Regions from separate parts of the Homo sapiens genome. Here regions 1 and 2 are each linked to region 3. Evidence: promoter capture Hi-C in 16 types of primary human blood cells and fetal thymus (Javierre and others, 2016). All regions are on one chromosome and are shown on one strand. Each heading gives the region's core, a stretch centred on a gene start or on the middle of the fragment in contact. The rest is flanking DNA. Distances are from core to core; before and after follow the strand shown. Region 1 overlaps URB1 (URB1 ribosome biogenesis factor). Region 2 overlaps MIS18A (MIS18 kinetochore protein A). Region 3 holds the start of TCP10L (t-complex 10 like).

Region 1 (2,700 bases), core at 193-2,692, 260 kb after region 3:
GTCATTATTTCTAAAAGAAGTGTAAATATTTGATATTTGCCATATTGTTACCATTCCTTTGTGTAGATCTAGATTTCTATCTGGTATCATTTTTCTTCTTCCTAAAATACTTCCTTTAAGAATTCTTATTGTTCAAGTCTACTGGTGACCAATTGTTTTAGCTTTTTTGTGTCTGAAAAAAGTCTTAACTTTTGAAAGATTTTGATACTGGTGACCAATTGTTTTAGCTTTTTTGTGTCTGAAAAAAGTCTTAACTTTTGAAAGATTTTGATGGGGTATAAAATTCAAGGTTGACAGTTTTTTTTCTTACAGTACTTTAAAGAAGTTGCTCCTCTGGTTTCTGAATTGAGTTATTTCTGACAAGAAATCTGCCATTCTTATCTTCATTCTTCTGTATGTCATGTGGCTGCTCTTAAGATTTTTTTTAAATCACTGGTGTCAAACAATTTGATCACAATGTGCTTTCGTGTGATTTTCTTTTATATATAAATATATATGCTTTATTTGTGATGATGCTTGCATGATATTCTTAATGTTTTATGTTTTGAGTTTCTTGGCTGTCTAGGTTTATAGTTTTTTTTGGTCAGATTTCAAAAAGTTTTGGCCATTATTTCTTCGGATTTTTTTCAGGGACCCCCTATTACACATACCCACAGGACACTGATGTTCTGTTCATATTTTTCCTCTCTGTGTTTTCAGCTTGGATAGTTTCTATTGCTGTCTTAAGTTCGCTAATCCTTTTTGGTCTAGTGTCTAATCACTGATAATCCCATCTCTATTGGTCCATTCTTGCACTGGTATAAAGAACCCGAGACTGGATAATTGATCAAGAAAAGAGGTTTAATTGACTCATGGTTTCATAGTCTGTGTAGGAAGCATGGCTGGGGAGGCCTCAGGAAACTTTCAATTATGGTAGAAGGCAAAGGGAAAGCAGGCACATCTTACATGCCAGAGCAGGAGGAAGTGGGGCAGTGCCACACGCTTCTAAACAACCAGCTCTTGTGAGAACTCACTAGCATGAGAACAGCAAGGGGAAATCTGCCCCGAGATCCAATCACCTCCCACCGGAGTCCCCACCTCCAACATGGGGGTTTGTAATTCAACATGAGATTTGGGTAGGGCCACAAATCCAAACCATTTCACCATCCAATGCATTTTTCAGCTCAGATATTTTAGTTTTCATCTCTAGAAGCTTGGTTTTGGGTTTTTGTATCTTCTGTGTCCCTGCTTAAAATGCTTTATCTTTCTTTAACTTTTAAAAATGTCATCAATGGACTATCTCTTATTGATGTTATATTCCATGATTACTCATTTGGAGTAGTCATTTCAGTTGGCTTGTGTTTGGTTCCCAATTAGGCCACTGGTCACTCTATCTCGAGAACATCATTGTGGATAATTATCATGATCAGTTTAATCATTAATAATTAATTCCTATTCTAAGGTTCTTCTTGACAGTATTTATCTTGTAGAATAGCCTGGGTTTTTATTAAGGAGTGGGAAGGTGTCCTCAGTTTCGTTAGTGAAGAGCCCTCTAGGTTGTGGTAAGGCGCATCCCCTCATGTGTCTGACCTTCTCCCTCTCTCTGTGAGTCTTCTCCTCTCCTCTAGTGATTGTCAGCTTCTCTCGGCCTCACAAATGGCAAATGGATACCAGCCAACAGGCTCTCTGGACCGTAGCTTTTGCTTAAGCTTGATGAGCCACTTTTCTGTGAGACTTGTGTTGTTTATTTGAAGGAAGAGCTAGGGTTGCAGAGTGGGTGTGAGTGAGTCCTTTGTCGGGCTGGTTGGCATCAGCTGCCTTTTCCTGCTTTCACTGCTGTGTGTGCTTTCCTCGGTGATGCTTATAGACAGGCGCCCGCGGTGGAGGGCTGAGCAAGGTGGAAGCTGGGGACTGATTTTCTCTGCTGATTCCCAGTTGTGTTCCCCAGGCCTCTGGCATGCTGGGGTCTCCGCAGTGGGTCTCAGTGTCACCTCCAATATCCTGACTCATTGGGTGTTTATGAGAAATAATGAAATTATCCTGGTTGGGATGTATGAGCATTTTAGAAACTGAAGGTATGGTCATTATTGCCACATAAAGGAAGAGGTTTTTTTGTCTAACTTCAGCAGAAGTTAGGAGGAGTTGGAGAGAGACTTGCATTCCTTGTGCTTGGCACATGTAGCTATTGGTAAGACACAAGAGGAAATTTAATTCTCCAGGTTAACAAGAATAATAAAATCATATTGTGTGTGTTTCATGCTGTATTTCATTTCCTGCAGAGTTTGTGGTGGATTGTCGAAAATTTTTGGATTCAAATGCTCTGGGCCTAACTGTCACAGCCCTCAGCAGCTATGACCCCCAGATGCGAGCCATAGCCTACCATGTCCTGGCGGCCTACTACTCGCACTTGGAGGGCGCACGGTTCCAAGAGCAGTCCCAGGTAAGTAGGAAGAGCGTACATCCTACTGTGGGGGTGGGCCTGGCGGACTTCAGAGAGCTGGCTGTCCACCCGGTTTGGTAGAAGGATTTACTAGGGAACACGGAGGTGGCATGTTGCCGGGAGATCTCTGCTGAAGAGCAAAAGTCTGTTCCCTTAGGAGGTGATCCCGGAGGTCGCCTTTGATCCACAACCCCCCGTGGAGGTTGAGAAAGGTTTCTCCTTACAGGCTTTCTTGTGTTGTGTGTAGACAAAATTATATGACTTCTACTGAGTATTTCTTT
Region 2 (2,700 bases), core at 47-2,546, 310 kb after region 3:
GCGGTCTTATAATGGTAATGAGGTTTGATATATAGCATGGAGGTTTACCTGTTCACTGTGAGTAATTTAAGTGGGATTTACCGACATGCTTTTTATTTCTCATATAAACATTTAAACAAGCTGGCTGGGTATGGTGACTCCTGCCAGTAATCTCACATTTGGGAGGCCAAGGTGGAGGATTGCTTGAGGCTAGGAGTTCGAGACCAGCCTGGGCAACATAGCGAGACTATTTCTACTATAAAACTAAAATATAGAAGCTTATAAAAGCCCGTAGACACTTAATATGTAATCAGTGGCATACTATCCAGCTAATCACATCATCAGTGAGAATTCATGACTTAATCAGATGGTGATCCATTTTGTTCTTTGTTCCATATGTTGCTGTAATAATTAACAGTGTCTCAGTATCTGTAAGTAAACAATGATGTAGTCTATAATCTGTGAGTCTTGGGTAGCTCCCTTTTGCTTGATAGCAGGAATGGATATTTAGTGATTACAAGTGTTTCACATACTGAGTAGGAGTTAGAATACTTTTGTAATAAAAATCGTTTGTGGTGTATGTTTTACTACTGTGATCACTACTAGATTTAAATCTCTAGTTATCATTTTGCTATGTGTTGGAATGGTAATTTTAGTATATTTATAGAATGGTAAATTTGGATGGGTCAGTTCAACAAGGCGTTTGGGAGACACTGGATTCTAAGCCAGGTTTTAAGGAGACATGAATAGGCTTTGGGGGAGGGTATATTCAAGTGTGTGGAACCTGAGTTGAGAGGTAACTAGAATGAAGAAACAATTACATGGGTTGTCATCTAACTTTAGAGACTTTTTTTTTATTAAGCCAAGCAGTATTACCTTCCACTAGAGCAGAGTTTGGTAAACTATGGCCCATGGGGCGGGCACCCATTTGTGAATACGAGTTTATTGGAACACAGGTTATTCAGTTAGTATTGTCTATAGGTGCTTCCGTTTTACAATGGCAGAGGTGAGTAGTGACAGACACCAGATGGCTGGCGAGGCTAAAATATTTATTCTCCACTTTGTTACATTAGTACCAGATGGAGGAATTTATATTCTAGAAAAACACCACCTCAATATTCTCTCTTGTCACTTTTTTGTATGTCCCTTGTCATTTGATACTTAAGGCATCGTGGCTGTCTTTACATTTTTATTGTAAATATCTTACTATCATTTTTTCCTATCCTTTATGTATGACCTAGTGTGGTCAGAATAGCATACTTGAGAAACTGAGGTGTTTATGGATTTTAACAGTGAGATTTTTATTATAATGAGTTGCTGCTTCGTTTCCTAAAGCAAGACATTTCTTTATTGCAGCGTCCTTGAGACTTTGTGCTGCGCGGGGTGCTCACTCAATCTTGGCTACGTGTACAGATGCACGCCCAAGAATCTTGATTACAAGAGAGACTTGTTTTGCCTCAGTGTTGAAGCCATTGAAAGGTAAGTTTGATATATAAATGTTTACCTCACAACTGGTGTTTCAGAAAGTTAAGGCACGGAATTGTCAGAACTAAATCAATACTGTTTGGTTAAATATATTTTCAAGTAATGATTTCTAACAAGCCAGTAATTTTTTTTTTTTTTGCTTTGACCTCCTTCTTTATTTGGTATTGGAAAAGTCAGACACTCTAAATTGTAGGAGAAAACACTGTGAGAAAATTTTTGGAATAAAAGTATATTCAGTTGTTTTTAAAAATTGAAAGTAGTTCAGTAGGATATTGCCCCCTGCCCCCAGCTTTTTATTTTTATTTATTTTAAAACTTATTTTTTTAAGATATGGGGTCTCACTCTGTCGCCCAGGCTGGAGTGCAGTGCTGTGGTCATAGCTTTCTGCATCCTTGAACTCCTGGGCTCCAGCGATCCTCCTGCCTCAGCCTCCCAAGTAGCTAAGACTACAGGCATATTGCCCGGGGTCTTGTGTTGCCCAGGCTGGTTTCAAACTCCTAGCCTCAGATGATCCTTCTGTCTCAGCCTCCTGAATAGCTGGGAACAAGTGCATGCCACCACACCCAGCTTGTATTTTAACCTTGTACCGTACTTCAGTTATGTTTTAGGGTCCTCTGAAAAGCAAATTGTGTCAGAAGATAAAGAGCTTTTTAATCTTGAAAGCAGAGTTGAAATAGAAAAGTCTCTAACACAGGTAATTTTATTCTGTACATTTTATATCTTTGTATGAACAGTTTGTCAGTGAAGAAGTGCTCCCCCACAAACGATAATTCTCATAACGTCATCTGTGTTGATTGCAGGAAGAGTGTGCTTATTTCATTTCAGTTGTTAGTAAAGTTGATTTTTGGGGAACTCAAAAGCTAAAGCTTAATCAACAAAATAATGAGGAAGACATGTCATGTCAAAATCAAAACTATATATTAAAACACTGCAAAGCTAGAAATACATCTTTGATTCAAATCAGTATTTTGTTTGATTCAATTCTTGTGGTATAAATAGCCTTGTTGTTGGATGTTAACATTTTCTCATTGCCAGATAGGTGAGATGGTGATGATTGTATAAAAGAGATGTAGATTATAGGTTGAGAACTACTGTTGATAGAATTATGCTTTATTTTTAAAAAATTTATGCCTCTAAATAGTTTTGTTAAACACTGAATATCTACCTTGTAATGTATGACATATCCAAAATTGCATTAAGTGTATATCTTAATTATATTTAACCATGTATAATTTT
Region 3 (2,700 bases), core at 51-2,550:
TCAGGAACCCATATAAGGAACCCACACACCTCAGGCTCATACACACAAGCCCTCACACACCTCAGGAATCCACACACAACCCCTCACACACCTCAGGGTCTCACACACAATGTTGACACACCTCAGGGTCTCATACACAAACCCTCACACACCTCAGGACCCACACAATTCATCACACTTCTCAGGACACACATAAAACCCCTCACACACCTCAGGGGCCCATACATAACCCCTCACACACCTCAGGACTCACACACAATCCTCTCACACACCTCAGGACTCACACAACCTCTCACACACCTTAGGACCCACACACAACCACTCACACACCTTAGGACCCACACACAACCTCTCACACACCTTAGGACCCACACACAACCACTCACACACCTTAGGACCCACACACAACCTCTCACACACCTCAGGGACCCACACACAACCACTCACACACCTCAGGACCCACACACACCTCATACACCTCAGGGACACACACAACCCCTCACATACCTCAGAAACCTATATAAACTCTCACACACTTCAGGACAAACATACAACCTCTCACGCACCTCAGGACACACACACACACACTCGCACACCTCAGGACACACACACACACTCTCACAGTTAGAATGACACATGGGGACAAAAGTGCCTTCTGTTTCCTCTTTGTAGTATTCTCTTCATTCATTCATGACGTCGGCATTTACTGCCTATTGCATGCGAATCGCTTGCAGAACTATCCAAGTGACACACGTCCCAAGCAGGCTCAGGTGAGCCCCAGGTGTATGTTGTCCACACGCAGCACCATGGATGAGAAGGACAGCCAGGGTTTAACAGGAATATCGACTCTTGCTTGCTCCTCATTCTCTTCTCTATCACAAAAATCACACGGACAATTCAGATGGAGATGCATTTAGTGAAATGATGAAACTTTGAATCCTGTCTCCTATTTAAACTCACATATATTATTTTCCCTTCATAAAAATGTTTTTTCTAGTAAATAATTTGATATCCGAAGAAAGTTTGTATTTCTCCAAGAATGTATGCTCAGAGAAATGAGCTCTTACTACACGTTGCGTATTGAAGACTGGATATAAAACACATGGTTTTTGTCAATTTGGAGGAGTAGTTTGACTCTCTCCAATGTCCTTTGTGGATGGATGGACTCCACTGACGATGAGCTTCTATATTAAGAATTGCAGGTTTGGGGATGTTTAATTATTATCTGAGCTGGTACAGTGGTGACGCTGAGTGAGACGTTCATGTCCCTTTAAGACAGAAAGTCCGTTGGAACTGTCCGCTGCTCTCTGGTCTCTGGATATGAGGCAGGAGGGCTTGGGGACAACTGTGGGGACATGGCCCAGATGATCTGATCCTGGCAGTAGTGACTGTTGGGGACCAGGTGAGGTGACGAGGTCTGGTGGTGGGGCTGAAGGAAAGGGTCTTCCCTGGACTGAGGGGGTCATGAGTTTGGGGCCGAGGACACTGGGGTGTCCCCTCAGAGGAGCAGGAAAGAAGGAGCTTTCTCAGGGCTGTGAGGACCGTGACCCCAGCCCACTTCCGCAGAAACATTCCCAGTCTCCGCGGGGAAGGAATGGCAGTGATCTGGTTACTGGTAGGTCTTGCTCTAGACCTTCGATTCGCTTCCATCAGGAGACTCTCTTTTAAATAGCATTTCTCCGATCACTGTGGTTAAACTGTTCCTTCTCACACAGTTAGAAGTTTATGAATTAAACAGTCGGGGTTTCGTTGGGGGCCACTGGCTTCCTAAAACGGACAGGGCAAGGCAGGGGTGGAGGCAGCTTTCAGAGACGACCCTGCAGGCTTGCAGGAAAGCTTTGCGTTTTTCTCTTTCGTTTTTGTTCTCTAATTGCTGTGAACTTCCTAGAACTGGCATAAATGCTGTACCTATAAAAAGGTGTTTCCTTTCCACATCTTCACCATGAATTCACAAATGTCACCCTGATGGTTCAAGACACATACTCAACACGGTGGAGGGTCTGCCTGTGCCCCTCCAGGTGGGTGCTGATTAAAGGGCTGAGAATTCCCTCGGTGTCTCATGCGACCCTCCACTCACACCTGCTCACACCCTGAGACCATTCCACTCACACCTGCTCATACCCCAAGACCATCGTGCTCACATCCGCTCACATCCATTCACATTCCGCTCATATCCTGCTCACAACCCACTCACATCCCACTCACACCGGCTCACACCCCACTCACACCCCTCTTTGGATGACTGGAGTGTGTTAGGTGTCAGGCTGATCTTCTAGGATCTAAAGCATTTTCCACGGAGGATGGTGGAGAGCCAGGTGTGGACAGCTCAGTCCCTCTGTCTGTGGTGTCCTTTCACCTGGTCAGCTTCGGGCCTGGGAATGTGCACATGACCCAGGGGGAGAAGGAGCGGCTGCGGGTCCTGCTCACCCTTAGTTTGGGGCTGGGGCCTTCAGCCCACACTGACGGGGTAGGAGGGCTGCATTCAAGTGTCCCCATAGCCCTTCCCTTCCCAACCAGGATGCTGGCAGGTCAACTCGAGGCCAGGGACCCCAAAGAGGGCACCCACCCAGAGGACCCGTGCCCAGGAGCTGGGGCTGTCATGGAGAAGACAGCTGTGGCAGCCGAGGTTCTCACGGAGGACTGCAACACTGGGGAGATGCCAGTGAGTTGAGCTCTGTGGGGACAGAGTTAGTCCCACCA

What was found. Contacts are between HindIII fragments. The CHiCAGO score rates a contact against its expected background, and 5 or more counts as called.
Region 1: a contact is called between a fragment that was not itself captured here and the fragment with the promoter of TCP10L in region 3, in 6 of 17 cell types (endothelial precursors, erythroblasts, M1 macrophages and 3 more). The highest score is 8.0, in endothelial precursors.
Region 2: a fragment that was not itself captured here is called in contact with the fragment with the promoter of TCP10L in region 3 in 1 of 17 cell types (endothelial precursors); the score reaches 5.3 in endothelial precursors.

What each region holds. Positions count from the first base shown.
Region 1 is chr21:32,324,948-32,327,647 of GRCh38, reverse strand. It overlaps URB1 (URB1 ribosome biogenesis factor), which reads left to right. Exons shown (of 39, transcript NM_014825.3): 31 at 2,259-2,419. Among named protein-coding and RNA genes, the nearest start is that of MRAP-AS1, 18 kb to the right of the region's middle. The HindIII fragment of the contact is 496 bases long and covers 1,195-1,690 here.
Region 2 is chr21:32,269,165-32,271,864 of GRCh38, reverse strand. MIS18A (MIS18 kinetochore protein A) reads left to right here. Exons shown (of 5, transcript NM_018944.3): 3 at 1,336-1,458; 4 at 2,062-2,158. Among named protein-coding and RNA genes, the nearest start is that of MIS18A, 8.5 kb to the left of the region's middle. The HindIII fragment of the contact is 2,073 bases long and covers 260-2,332 here.
Region 3 is chr21:32,584,123-32,586,822 of GRCh38, reverse strand. TCP10L (t-complex 10 like) reads left to right here and starts at 1,300. Exons shown (of 5, transcript NM_144659.7): 1 at 1,300-1,402; 2 at 2,518-2,662. The coding sequence starts at 2,519. The region is part of intron 5 of CFAP298-TCP10L (CFAP298-TCP10L readthrough); the gene reads left to right. RefSeq lists a silencer at 1,262-1,461 and an enhancer at 2,543-2,700. The HindIII fragment of the contact is 14,271 bases long and covers 1-1,838 here.